Regions from separate parts of the Homo sapiens genome. Here region 1 is linked to region 2. Evidence: promoter capture Hi-C in human tissues and cell types (Jung and others, 2019). All regions are on one chromosome and are shown on one strand. Each heading gives the region's core, a stretch centred on a gene start or on the middle of the fragment in contact. The rest is flanking DNA. Distances are from core to core; before and after follow the strand shown. Region 1 overlaps PEX7 (peroxisomal biogenesis factor 7). Region 2 holds the start of SLC35D3 (solute carrier family 35 member D3).

Region 1 (7,177 bases), core at 1-2,500, 57 kb after region 2:
AACCATAATAATGTATAGGAACTATTCAAATGAAGGAATACAAAAAGTGACGTTGCACCGTGATAATGCTATTAGGAGGAAAATTTGAATCTCACGCTGAGATAAACACAGTATTGACTAAACACACAGCTGGTGTGTGTTCGAGGCAGGAAAGGCCCTGAAAATTCTCGTGTTAGGAAATAAAGTGATCACTCTGTACCAGTGTATTGTACTAGAAACCAACAATAGAGTAACAATTTTACTGCTAAAGGCGGGCAAAGTCTACCAAGCCAAAATGGAGAATTTTTTACTTTTCATTGTCAAGTATACTATATTTTAACGGGCCAGCTATAAGTGTATTTTTCTCCTCAAAAAAAAAAGCTAAAAAATTTTATTTATTTATTTTTATGTATTTATTTATTTATTTCGAGACAGAGTCTCACTCTGTCGCCAGGCTGGAGTGCAGTGGCACGATATCGGCTCACTGTAATCTCCGCCTCCCAGGTTCAGGTGATTCTCCTGCCTCAGCCTCCCGAGTAGCCAGGACTACAGGTGCACACCACCACGCCCAGCTAATTTTTGTATTTTTAGTAGAGACGGGGTTTCGCCATGTTGGCCAGGATGATCTCGATTGCCTGACCTCGTGATCCACCCGCCTCAGCCTCCCAAAGTGTTGGGATTACAGGCATGAGCCGCAGCGCCCGGCCTATTTATTTATTTTGATATTTTTTTGAGACAGAGTCTTGCTCTATTGCCCAGGCTGGAGTGCGGAGGCACGGTCTCAGCTCATTGCAACTTCCACCTCCTGGGTTCAAGCAATTCTCATGCTTCAGCCCCCCAAGTAGCTGGGATTACAGATGTGTGCTACCACGCCCAGCTAATTTTTGTATTTTTAGTAGAGATGGAGTTTTAGCCAGGCGTGGTGGCTCACGCCTGTAATCCCTACCCTTCGGGAGGCCAAGGTGGGCAGATCACCTGTGGTCAGGAGTCTGAGACCAGCCTGGCCAACATGATGAAACCCTATCTCTACTAAACAAAAAATTAGTTGGGCGTGGTGGTGGCGGGTGCCTGTAATCCCAGCTACTGGGGAAGCTAAGGCAGAAGAATCACTTGAACCTGGGAGGCAGAGGTTGCAGTGAGCCGAGATTGTGCCACTGCACTCCAACCCAGACAACAAGAGTGAAATTCTATCTCAAAAAAATAAATAAATAAATAAAGAGTGAGAGAGATGGGGTTTCACCATGTTGGCCAGGCTAGTCTCGAATTTCTGACCTCAGGCAATCTTCCCACCTCAGCCTCCCAAAGTACTGGGATTACAGGTATGAGCCACCATGCCTGGCCAACAAGCTAAAAACATTTAAAGATTACACTTTGCATTATTACAAAAACAGTTTGCATTACTTAATTGCACAGACACCCAATTAAATGTTTTACATGTTGTTTGCCTCCAGTTTTTCTAAACTATGAGGAAACAAAAGATGACAAGATGAATAAAATCCAGAATATATATACCTACCTCAAAAGTAAAATATAAACAACTGATGATGTGAGAAAACCAGTTCCATGTAATGAAAAGCATGTAGTTTCTGGCATGATAGCAGGTGGGGACTTGAATGCCATTTTGTGGTTATAGGATACATACCCTGCATAGGATACGTAATATCTCTGAGACTGATTCATTCTAAAGGAGACACAGAATGCCCAACATGCAGCGCTGTCTAAGAATTTCATCACGTTTCTGTAAAGCACCTAGCATGGTCTCTAACACATACTAGAAACTGCCAAATACGGTATATAAAAATGCTAAATTTTTAAAGTATCTTTCACTTATCTACATATATTTTCCTATATTCCCAATTCTAAATCATATATTGTTAAGCTAAATTTAGCTATCCTAGGCAATTTTTTCCTGGCTTCTTCGGAAGTTGCTTAAGAAAGATAAGAAATGTGTTGGCAGTAATGAAATGCAGAGGTTAAGAACAGGGCCTTTGGAGTTCCTGAGCTTGGTTCTAATCCAGCTCAATCATTTGGTGGCCACTGATGCTTAATCAAGTTATTTCGCTGATCTTCAGTTTCCTACCTACAATAAAATAACTGCCTTGTAAGGCTGAAATGAGACAAGGTAGTAGCATGAGTACGGTGCCAGATACGCAAAAGATATGCAGTAAGCTCTCAATATGTGTGTTTTTTTTTTATGAGAAAAAATACCCATGATTAGAAGTTATTTATGTCCCCCCAATAATAACAACATGAATAATAGTTAATATTTGAGTGCTTCCAATGTGCCACATACTGTTCTAAGCATTTTATACATATTTTTTCTAAAAACATCACAACTACATAAAGTAGGAATTTGGAGATATAAAAGTAATTGTATAGTACTATACAAATGAGGAATATAGTACTATACAAATGCAGCATATAAAGATGAAATAACTCACCCAGGATAGTAAGCAACAGAACCAGGACCTGGAACCAGAACCCAAGGAGTCTGGGTCCCCAGCATGCACACTTTACAGCTTTACAACTACACTGCGCTGCTGCCTCCTTGTGTTGCTGGACGACAAATGCCATACAATCAATGTTGGCTAATTCTGGAGGAATTATTTTAATTCTTTTAATTTCCAGGCTGGAGTGCAGTGATGCGATCTCAGCTCACTGCAACCTCCACCTCCCAGACTCAAGCAATCCTCCCATCTCAGCCTCCCAAGTAGCTGCGACTACAAGCGCACACCACCATGCCCCTGCTAATTTTTCTATTTTTGGCAGAGACGGGGTTTTGCCATGTTGTCCAGGCTGGTTTCCAGCTCCCGAGCTCAAGCAATCCACCTGCCTCAGCCTCCCAAAGTGAGGGGATTACAGGTGTGAGCCACTGCATCCAGCCCTGTATTACTTTTTCTATAAATCGGAGAAAAATTTCTATTATATTTTCAATACCACTTCCCATCCTCCCTGCCCAGAGGCCACAACAGTCATGAATTTGGTCCACAGCCCTTTAGTTTGCATTTTGGTAATACTTTTATTATATTTTTATGGATCCATAAATACGTACTACTACTGCTTTGTATGTAGGATTTTTTTTCCTTTTTTGATTTAAAAATACTGTCCTGCTACATTAAAAAAAGGTTGAAAACCACTTTGATAGATGAGAGTAACAAACATTTTTGGACCTAGCTAAGGATGGTACCTCCGTCCATAGCACCTCATTCCTTGCTCAGACCACAGCTGACAGGCCAAATGGGGGTACTTGGGATTTTTCTTACTACAACTGAAAAATAATGTCAGTCCCTCTTCTATGGCAGAACTGACAAGTTATAAAATTCAGGACCCACTAGTGACAACATATCTCATTGTGAAAAATGAATGATAAGTTTGAAAGTACCAAAAGGAAATTGTTCAGAATTGGTACAGGTTAGAGCTTCAAATAACTCCAACGGCCCTCATTATAATCACTGTCTGTGGTCTAGCCACCAGTCAGTAGAATCTGCTTCTAGAATTCCAAATAGCTTTGATGAAATGATCTCTCATGACTTTCTCCAGCCTTCAGTGTATAATGCAGGGTGACGTGGATGTCCAGTGTTTGGCCTGCCCAGAAATACCCTTTTTCTAGGAACAGCATGTCCTTTTCTCACCAAGTGATTCTATAAAGACTTACACCTCAACACAATTGACTGACCAAAGGCAGGTCCAGGCAAGACCAACCACAGTACCTCATTCCCTGCTTTGACTACAGCTGAAAGGTCAAAGGCAGGTACTTGGGATTTTTCTGAACTATAACTGAAAAAATAATGTCTGTCCTCTTATGGTAGCATTTACAACTTATAAAATTCAGGAGGCTGGGCATGATGGTTTACACCTGTAATCCCAGCACTTTAAGGGGCTAAGGCAGGAGGATCACTTGAGCCCAGGAGTTCGAGATCAGCCTGAGCAACATAGTGAGATTCCAGCTCTACAAAAAATTTAAAAATTAGCCAGGCATGGTGGCACACACCTGTAGTCCCAGCTACTCTGGAGGTTGAGGTAGGAGAACTGCTTGAGTCCGGGAGGTCAAGGCTGCAGTGAGCCATGATCGCACCACTGTACTCCACCCTGGGTGACAGAACAAGACCCTGTCTCAAAAACGTAAAAATATGGCCAGGCACAGTGGCTCATGCCTGTCATCCTAGCACTTTGGGAGGCTAAGGCAGGTGGATCACTTGAGGCCAGGCGTTTGAGACCAGCCTGGCCAACATGGCAAAACCCTGTCTCTACTAAAAATACAAAATAAATAAATAAATTAGCCAGGCATGGTGGCACACGCCTGTAATCCCAGCTACTCAAGACGCTGGGGCATAAGAATTACTTGAACCCCAGGGGTGGAGGTTGCAGTGAGCTGAGATCACGCCCCTTAACTCCAGCCTGGGCAATGGAGCAAGTTTCTGTCCCCCCAAAAAAAAAACTATATATATATAATATATATATATATAATATATATAAAATATATATATATAAATACAGAAAAAATATATATATATAGCTTTGATGAAATGATCTCTCATGACCTTCTCCAGCCTTCAGTGTATAATGCAGGGTGACGTGGATGTCACGCTGCATTATACACTGAATATATATATAAACATAGTGAATTTATATATATTTATATATATATAAATTCAGGAGCCACTAGTGGCCATGTGTCTCACTGTGTGGAGAAAGCCAGTCTGCAGAGCCAAGTCAACAAGTAGAGAAAAGTCCAGATGAGAAACAGAATGTGTCCTGGGGCCTTTCAAACAGCCCTTCCCTTTCTGGAGTATGCTTTTTAACAAATTTCACAAAGATCTAACATAGTCCCAGTTCTATCACTTGCAGGCAAAGGAAATCACTCTTTATCATAAGGGAGCGAAGGGTATTCTCCTAAAGCGTCAGTCTCCTGAAACTAGCTAAAAAAAAACCATTTAATTAAGCTCGAGGTTTCCATTAAAACATACAAAATGCCTAAATAATATATACTAACTTTCAGGAATTTATATCTAATACTAGGTTAAAAGTATAAATTCTGCTATAGCTATAGCATTGTCTCAAGATCAATGAGCTTGGGTTCACCCTAATAAGATATGAGTATGTGAACTGACTTAAAGTACCAAAACAGGTCAGGCATGGTGGCTCACACTTGTAATCCTAGCACTTTGGAAGGTCAAGGCAGGCAGGTCGTTTGAGTTTAAGAGTTCCAGACCAGCCTGGGCAACCGTGAAATCCTGTCTCTACAGAAAATACAAAAATTAGTCGGGCTTGGTAGCATGCACCTGTAGTCCCAGCTACTCAGGAGGCTGAGGTGGGAGGACTGCTTGAGCCTAGGAGGCAGAGGCTACAATGAGCCAAGACTGTGCCGCTGCACTCCAGCCTGGGTGATAGAGCCAGACTCTGTCTCAAAAAATAAAAATAAAAAAATTTAAAAGTACCAAAACATTACAATGAATGCAGACTAGGAGATTAAGAACTGTTATTGTAGGAATAACATGGATGAGTCTCACAAGACATAATGTTGCATGAAAAAAACCAGTAACAAAGGTATGAAAATGGGCAACATTAATCCATGTTATTGGAAGGCCACACAGTGGTCACCTGGGGTGGGACGTGGTGAGAAGCGACTATAAGGATGGGAGGAGGCCCTCTGGGAACATTCTGTTTCTTCACCTGGGTGCCAGTTACAAGGATGTGTTCATTGTGAGAATTCACCAAATTGTATACTAAGATTATGCACTGTTCAATATGTGTATTATACTTCAATAAAAGATTAAAAAACACAATAACAAAGGTTGGGAGGTTTTGTTCCACACCACCACTTTCTTTCTTTTTTTTTTTAATTATACTTTAAGTTTTAGGGTACATGTGCACAACATGCAGGTTTGTTACATATGTATACATGTGCCATGTTGGTGTGCTGCACCCATTAACTCGTCATTTAACATTAGGTATATCTCCTAATGCTATCCCTCCCGCCTTCCCCCACCCCACAACAGGCCCCGGTGTGTGATGTTCCCCTTCCTGTGTCCATGTGTTCTCATTGTTCAATTCACACCACCACTTTCATGCAATATTTAAAAAAAAAAAAAAAAAAAAAGAGCCATGGCTTGAGCTGTCCCCTCTTGCAGTTAATTTAATGGGCACAAAAATGTGAAGACTGCTGGGCAGGAGCTGAGAATTCCACTTCCTTGACAGCAACTCCTGATGTAACCATTTGGCACTTCATCCTCGCCATTTTGTTTTCCAGGTAGGAAGGAGACCTAATGACCAAATGGTACAATGACTCATTCAGCTCTTTCAGCTGCCAGGACTTCTGTATTTATATTGTTTTTTCAATTGAATTTTCTAGACAACTGGCCTTTCATTGACAGGCAGACATTTATCAGGGCCCTGTGATGGTGCCATAGACTCACCTGAATTGCCAGCTTCTCTTATCAATTGCAGACCTGCCACTGACAGAACCAGTGAATTTTTTTTTCTTTTTTTTTTTTTCTGAGACAGAGTCTAACTCTGTCACCCAGGCTGGAGTGTAGTGGCTCACTGCAACCTCTGCCTCCAGGGTTCAAGCGATTCTCCTGCCTCAGCCTCCCAGTAGCTGGGATTACAGGCACCCGCCATCATGCCTGGCTAATTTTTTTGAGTTTTTAGTAGAGATGGGGTCTCACCATGTTGGTCAGGCTGGTCTCAAACTCCTGACCTCAAGTGATCCGCTCACCTTGGCCTCCCAAAGTGCTGGGATTACAGATGTGAGCCACTGTGCCTGGCCAGAACCAGTGAATTTAAATGTACAATATGGGCAAGGAAGTGCTGGCTGTTACTATGTCTAATTTCAAATTGCAGCAGGTACGAGGAAGTTGCATAAGGAGAATGAGTGTAAACATAAGAGTCTAAAACTGGGAAGTGAACTGAGTAGCAAAAGGGTACTTTGGGGCCAATATAACTTAACCGAAATGCCTTGTGCCTCTCAGATGTAATATGACTTTTTCTTACAGTAGAACGAGGTTTGCTTTAACTACTGGATCCCACACATTCAGGCATGGTTATGACTTACGCAACTAGATGGAGTCTGTGACAGCAATAATTTAGTTTTCATGATTCCAAAGATAATTTACTTCATATTAATCCTCTTCATAAAAAGAGCTCAAATATTCTTCCCTTCTATCTCATATAATTTAGAAATATGATGTCTGTACTA
Region 2 (7,265 bases), core at 1,705-4,204:
GACACTTATTTTTAAAAAACAAGTGAGTAGAATCAGAGTAAATATGATATTTCAGATGACTATAAACAGTAAACATCAATTCAATATATTTATATATCATTTCAGCAATATACTCTTTGCCCAGCTGGCGATAAAAACTGTAGTTCTATCATCAAAAAATGCATCCCTGAATGTCATCTTTGAACTTACTAAGTGCTGTCATCATTTCTACACTCCATCTTTGGAGGGGGTGGCTTAGGGACTCTTGGTACATGCAGATATTTAGTTATGGTTATAATGACAAAAAGTAAATGTGCCAGGAGTCTGAAGCAGAAACGTTGCCTTACTTTGTTAAGTAGCTTCACATTCTTTTGTCTCTGTGATGCCTCAGGTGAAGTCACACTAAATAATTCACACAGGTGCTAATTTTGTTGCTCTGTGTCAGTACCTTTCAGCTTCTTTCTTTTCTTCCCTTCCCCACTCCTCAAAGAATAAAACGGGGAGGCCTCTCATTAAAACACGTCATTTCTAACATATAAAATAAGTGTATGCACATAGGTACGTACATGCACCTCCTTCTCAAGGACTGGGTAACTCCTCGTTTTCTATCAAATAATCCTTCTTCATATACCTGGTTCCCCTAACCAACCTCCATACCTCGAGGTAAGCATCTTTTAACGACCTCCTGCTCCCTTCTTCAGAGCTCCCAGCCACCAGCGGGACTCCTCGGGGGCTGCCCCTGACCTCTTGCCTGCTCTCCTGAGCGGGGCCACCTGCTGCCTCCCCACCTTCTGACCGGCCATTTCCTCCCTCCCCGGGCAGCTCCTCCATCACGAACGGCAGCTGGTCTCCACTTAGCTGCGCCTCCTCTCCCCGAGGCTGGGCCTCCAGGTCCTCGTAGTTGCTTTGCTTTCTGGTCTCCATGAACTTGGCCACACAGTAAATGATAGAGCCCAGGGTGTTCACCACCACGCCGGCAATGAACAGAGAGGTGGGCTCCACGTCGCTGAAGGCCACCATGCCCACCGTGATGGTGGCGATGCTCTTCACCACACCCACGAAGCTGGTGGTCACGGCCGAATTGATGTAGGTGCAGTGCAGCGTGGTGAAGTTCATGGCGCAGCCGATCAGGATGCAGGCCACGAAGATGCAGACCATGGCCGGGTCCTTCCAGCCCGGGAAGGTCCAGGCGTGGATGGAGTCGGTGCTGGCGAAGGAGCAGATGACCAGCAGCGGGGTGGCAGAGACGGCGATGACGTACTGCGCGGTGAGCGGCCCGTGCTCGGTGTCTGCGCTGGCCTTCTGGATGAGCACCAGGTAGGCAGCGTGCACCAGCACCGCCAGCACTCCCGTGACGTACCCGATGGGGTCGCCCGTCAGGTCGCCGGCTCCTGCGGCGCACGAGGAGGACGGCCGAGCCCGGGCGGGAAGGAAAAAGAGAGAAGACAGCAGGTTGGCGTGGGCGGGGACCCACGGGGAAAACGCGTCGGGTAGGAAAGGAGACTGGGTTCGCGCCCCAGCTCTGCCCACCGGATTCCTGAGTGACAGACGCCCGCCGTCCCTCGGCCACCCGTGTCAAATGCGACAGCCAAACTCAGTGCTCAGAGCGCCTTCCCGCCATATCCCCGGGTCACTCCATCTTCCTCTGTCCAAGACAAAGGCCCCGGAGAGCGCAGATGCCCTCGGGGCAGGTGCTGTGGCTTCCCCGAGCTGGCACCGAGGTCACTTGGGCGCGTGGTACCTGCACCCCGGAGCCCCTGCCCCGTGGGGCACCAAAGGGAGAGGGAGCCCCAGCCAGTGGCCTGCAACCCGGAGCGGGCCAGGCGCGGGGGAGAACGCCTGTTCTGGCCCCCAGTGAAGCTTCCCCCTGCCCAGGCTCTCGTCTCGCTCAGCACCTGGGTCGTCTGCCCCAGGGCCGCAGCCCCCTGCGCAGCACGAGACACCCCGCAGTAGCCCCGGGAACCCTCAGCTTCGCCCCCATCCCCCACCTCCATTCCAGCCCCTCGTGACCCAAGGAAGTTCACGGCCCCCTCCTTCCGGCTTGGTCCAGGCTTGGAGGACTCCAGCTCCCAGGCTCAGGCGGCCCTCCCACCTCTCCCGGAGAATGGGGTGACAGGGGAAGACCAGGAGAGGGGGCGACAGGAAGGGCGATGCCGGGTGAAGCATGGGCGAGGGTCGGAAGCCAGGACATTAGGGGGCAGGGGGACTTGGTGGGGCGCTGGGGAGCTCTCTGGGTCTCGGAAGTCCCTTTTGCGAGCTGAGCGACCACTCTCAAAGCTCTCCGGCTCTCTCTGCCTCAGTCTCCCCATCTGGAAGTGAGGTCGTTGAACTCAGTGATCCCCGCGGTCTCTGCCCGACGGAGCGGGGTGGGTGGGGTCGGCTGGGGGTCGGCGCGGGGGCCCGCTCACCTGCCAGGGCGGCGCCGCAGGTGGTGATGAGCACCGCCGCCAGCACCCCTGGCGAGGGCGCGCCGTTCTTGAGCACCAGGACGCCGATGAGCATGGTGACCAGGGGCAGGCAGCGCTTGAAGACCACGTACATGGGCAGGCTGAGGCCGCGCAGGGACCAGAGCGTGAGGCTGGACTGCAGCGTGGAGAGCACCGCGACCCCCGCGAAGGAGCGCGCCAGGCTCAGACCGAAGGGGGGCACGGCGATGAGCCCGAGGCGCCGCAGCAGCTCCAGGCTCAGCGCCGCGGTGGAGCTGGTCAGGCACTGCACCAGGGTCAGGAAGGAGAACTGGTAGCGGCTGATGAGGAACTTGAGCAAGATGTTGAGGGAGCCCGAGAAGACCCCGTGCGCGATGGCCACCGAGATGCCCAGCACGCGGCCCCGGCACAGCTGCCGCATCGCGCCGGCCTCGCCGCACCCAGCGGTGGCGGAGCTCCGCGACCTGCGCGCGAGGAGCCGGGAGCAGCGGAGTGAGGGCGGCGGGGGCGCCCGCCCAGCGCGGCGGCGAAGGGCAGGGGGCGCCGGCTCGGCTGCAGAGGGCAGCTCCGGCCAGGCGTTCTTGCGGTTAGGCAGCTCTGCGTCCGACTGCCCCGCAGCTCCGGGGAGGCAGTGACGAGGGCGGGGGACTCCGAAAAGTGGCAGAGGTGGCGGGGGGGCCGGTCTGAGAGGAGTGGCGGGAATCCTAGCGACAGCTATTTGTAAGTGGGTGATGAGCCGCGGTGGGTTGTGTCCCGCGCGGTTTCACCGTCAGGGAAGACGCTCTGCGGAGGGAAGCGGGCGGCTGGGCGCCCCGGGGCGGCTGCCGCAGGGCGGGACGGGGGCTCTTGGGGCGCGGCGCCCCTCTCCCCCCACAGAGCCAGCGGCTCTCGCTTGCCCCTTCCTCCTGGCCGAGGGGCTTGGGTTGGAGGGATCGGGACACAGCTAAAGATTTTAGAAACAGCGCATCAGGATCGAGCGCCGTTTATTGGTCGCAACAAGTGACGGCGCCCCCAGCCCCCTCGCCCCGGCGCTGCAGCGGCTTTTTCCACCCACTGTCCCTCCCGGTGCAGCGGCGGGACCTCGTCCAGCTGCCCGCCAGGGAAGCGAAAACCGTCGGTGCCGGCGGGCCCCCGAAGCTCCCGATCCCGGCGACGACGCCCGGGCATCGGAGGAGGAACCCGCGGCCCGGGGCGCTGTCCAGGGGGTGCCTCGGAGCCCGGAAGCTGGCTCCTTCCGGTGCCAGGCCACGCGCACCGCTCTCCGCACGCCTTCCAGAGAGGGTCCCGGGATTATGCGCGCGGCTCCGGGGAAGCTTTCAGGGGGTTCAGTGGTCTCGCCCAGCAGCGGGGCCTGGTGGCGGGGACACATTCGAACTGAGGCAAAGATGAAAATAAGCAAACGCGCAGAAACGAAGTCACTAACACGAGTAGCCACCACCAGGAACCGAGGAGCTCGGGGGCGACGCTTCCCGAAGCGTGGGAGGGGAGGCTGGCTGCGCTCGCAGAATGGGAGAGTAGAGGGGGAGGGGGCGGGAACCCGGGGCCCCTCACCCTGCAGGGAGACTCCGCGTGGCGTTCTCCGGATCCCAGGGAACTGATCCCAGGGAACCCTCACCCTGCGGGACCGTCGTGGGTTGCTTTCGGAAGCAGGACAACCGGCAGGCGGAGGGCGGGGAGAGTCACCACCTCCCTGGGCCAGGGTTCACACCTTTGCACCACAGGACTTGTGAACTGTGTGTTTCCTATATGACTAAGAGAAAAAGGGAATTCTAATTTTGGAGAGGGAGTAAGGCTTCGGTAACTCTTTGTTCTGAATTCAGTTCCCTGGAAAGTAACTCGCGCGGACCTGTAGTTAAATCAGCAGCAGCCAAGGGTTTCGCTCAGCCGAGGTAACCGTTAAGCGCCAGACAGTTTGGTTTTCAGGCGATTTGAAATTTGTGGCCTTGGCCAGGGTTTGGCTATAAGGGAAAGGTTCGAGATCGCTGCGCTCCAGCACCCCTTTCGTTCACCACCAGCAGTTTATTTCTCTTAGCCCCGGGAATCGTAACCTCCTAACCTTTTAGCGCTGCATCACGTTGCCTTAATAGACAGGATCCATTTCTCTCGTGGTTCTTCTGTTTTCTGCCTCTTACTTCCACCTCTGTGCTGAACGCGACACTTCAGCCAAAGTGCTGAAGTCGTGATTTACCGCAACAGAGGAAGAAAAAAAAATTACAGCAGGGATCAGCAGCATCACAGCAGCCCTTCATTTGGGCCAGCATTTGGGGCTCTGGATGCTCACTTTGGTGAGCTCTAGAGAGCTCGGGGTCAACCAGTCCACCAGCTTATGTGCCCGGTGCCTAGGAGGGCCACGTCCCTGCTCCCGACAGGTGGGCACTCAAAAAAAGTTTGTGAATGGCCCAGGGTGCCAACTTTCCAGGAATAGCTGGAAAGCATTATACTGAAACACGTGCTTCCGGTTCTCTGGGGAGCCCTTGGTTTTTGTTGCTAAAACTTGTGGTTACACACTATTGGCTGTTTAAGTGACTCTGTTTTTGTAGAGTTAATGTTATTTAGGAAATAATGAAGTCTGAAGCACCAGTTCAAATTATGTGTATGTGTGTGGTATAGTCAAAATATATTGATTCAAAACTCTGAAAATTAACTTTTTACAGATATCAGCAAATAACAGATTTCTGCTTCTAGAGACTATCCCAATAAAAGCATGGCTGCTTTAAGCCATCCTAAGTGCATATTATTAATATAAAGAAGTGGCTGCACAAACCTACTTTTGGAATGATTCATTTCTGCCCGCAATTATAATTGCATCCATTTGTGATACTAACATTAGGTAAAAGATTTGGGGCTGATTCAGCTATCTTACTCTTCTCATTTATGCAAGACAATTTAGCTTAATATTTGAAACCTACAGAGGCATAAAACCGCACATTTTCTCCACTTTGTTGCATGCAATTCTTTTGGAAAGAAAAAAACCTTAACCCCCATCTCCCACAAAACCAGATACTAGATGAGCTCCTTTTAAAAATTGTGAAAAATTAAGAATACCATGTTTAGCGAGGTTAAATGATCTAGATGAATAAAAATGTAGATCTAAAGGTTAAATAGCTATTTGACCTATTGGTATCAGGGTACCAAGGGTCTAGACTCAAGCACATCACCTTTGGAGCTACTTAATAAATATTAATGACATTAAATAAATCCTTTAGTTTATCCATTCATTCAACAAACATATAGTACAAGTATTTTGTGCTAAGTATTCTGTTAGCCACAGAGGACTTAAAGATGAACACAGCGCCTTCATCCTTAGCAACAGTGGGATTGTGTGGCAGAAAAGGGGGGAGCGCCAGGAGGGCAAGTACATCAGCTTGACAGCAGTAGCAGACAAAGCTTCCTGGAGAAGGAATTACAGTGTCTTTGAAAACTTACTTCATTATTTCTAATTATAAAAGTAACACAGGCTCATTGTGGTACATAAAAGAAAAACAAATTTATAATTAAGTAAACGCGCTCTCTTCAGTGTTCACCATCCCCAACCTTACTACACAGAGCTTGCTGTGTTCAGTGTGGAAACTTTCAGTCTTTTTTGTATGTATGTTTATACACACGCAAACTCCTCCTTTAAAAAAATAACAAAACTAGGATATCATATATATTTGTCTATAATTTCCTACTTTAAAAAGCGTATTATGGTAATTAGCCTTCTAGATAGTCTCCAGTGATACCCGCTTCCTGGTATTCACACCCTTATGTTAACTCCTCCCACGCTGTACCAGGGTTGGTCTGTGTAGCTAACAGAACCTGGCAGAAGTGATGACGGTCACTCCTGACTTTAGGTTATACTGAGACTTCCATCTTGTATGTCCTTTTTTCTCTTGTATCATTGAGTCTGGGGAAGCCGAATGCCACATTGTAGGGACATTCTGCCTATGGAAAATCCCATGTGGTTGAGTAATTGAGGCCTGATAACCATGTGAATAGCTGTGATGTCATGAGAAAACCTGAGCTCAAACAACTCAGTTGTTTCTGGATTCCTGACCATAGAAACTGTGAGATGATAAATGTGTGTTGTTTAAAACTACTAAGTTTTGGAGTGATTTTTTACATAGAAATAGCATATTTTTTCAAATGACTTATTCTTTTCAATAACTGTTCTACAGTATAACCTTTCTGTTGACAGGCATTTGGGTTTTAGCAAACGATGTAATGAATACCCTTGGACATAGCCATACTTCTACAGGTATTTTGGGAAAGGGGGAGAGAGGGAATCCTAGAAGTGGAATTGCTGGGTCAAAGGGTAATTTAAAATTTTGGCCGGGTACGGTGGCTCATGCCTGTAATCCCAGCACTTTAGGAGGCCAAGCCAGGTAGATCACTTGAGGTCAGGAGTTCAAGACCAGCCTGATCAACATGGTGAAACCCTGTCTCTACTAAAAATACAAAAATTAGCCAGGTATGGTGGCACGTGCCTGTAATCTCAACTGCTCTGGAGGCTGAGGCAGCAGAATCACTGAAACCGGGAGGTGGAGGTTGCTGTGAGCCGAGATCATGCGGCTGCACTCCAGCCTGGGTAAAAGAGTGAGACTCCATCTCAAAAATAATAACATAAAATAAAATAAAATAAAATCTTGATTTGTTACCAAATTGCCTTCTAACAAAGCATATAACAGTATTCTCACTTTAACCAATACTAGATATTATCAATATTTTTAATGTTTGCCAAACTGACAAGCAAAAATAAAAAGGGATCTCATTTTTAATTTGCATTTATCATTGAGACAGTCTGACTGAAACTTTTTGAAATGTAGTAAACATTTGTCTCTCCACTTCTGTGAATTATTTATTGATATCCTTGTCCAATTT

The links. Contacts are between HindIII fragments. The study calls those that stand out against the background at their distance.
Region 1: a fragment that was not itself captured here is called in contact with the fragment with the promoter of SLC35D3 in region 2 in 1 of the 25 tissues and cell types used here (H1 embryonic stem cells).

The regions. Positions count from the first base shown.
Region 1 is chr6:136,859,312-136,866,488 of GRCh38, reverse strand. All of the region lies in intron 5 of PEX7 (peroxisomal biogenesis factor 7), which reads right to left. Among named protein-coding and RNA genes, the nearest start is that of PEX7, 40 kb to the right of the region's middle. The HindIII fragment of the contact is 4,269 bases long and covers 1-3,384 here.
Region 2 is chr6:136,917,990-136,925,254 of GRCh38, reverse strand. It overlaps SLC35D3 (solute carrier family 35 member D3), which reads right to left and starts at 2,954. Exons shown (of 2, transcript NM_001008783.3): 1 at 2,388-2,954; 2 at 1-1,370. The coding sequence starts at 2,826. The coding sequence ends at 559. RefSeq lists an enhancer at 3,426-3,932. The HindIII fragment of the contact is 8,751 bases long and covers 1-4,755 here.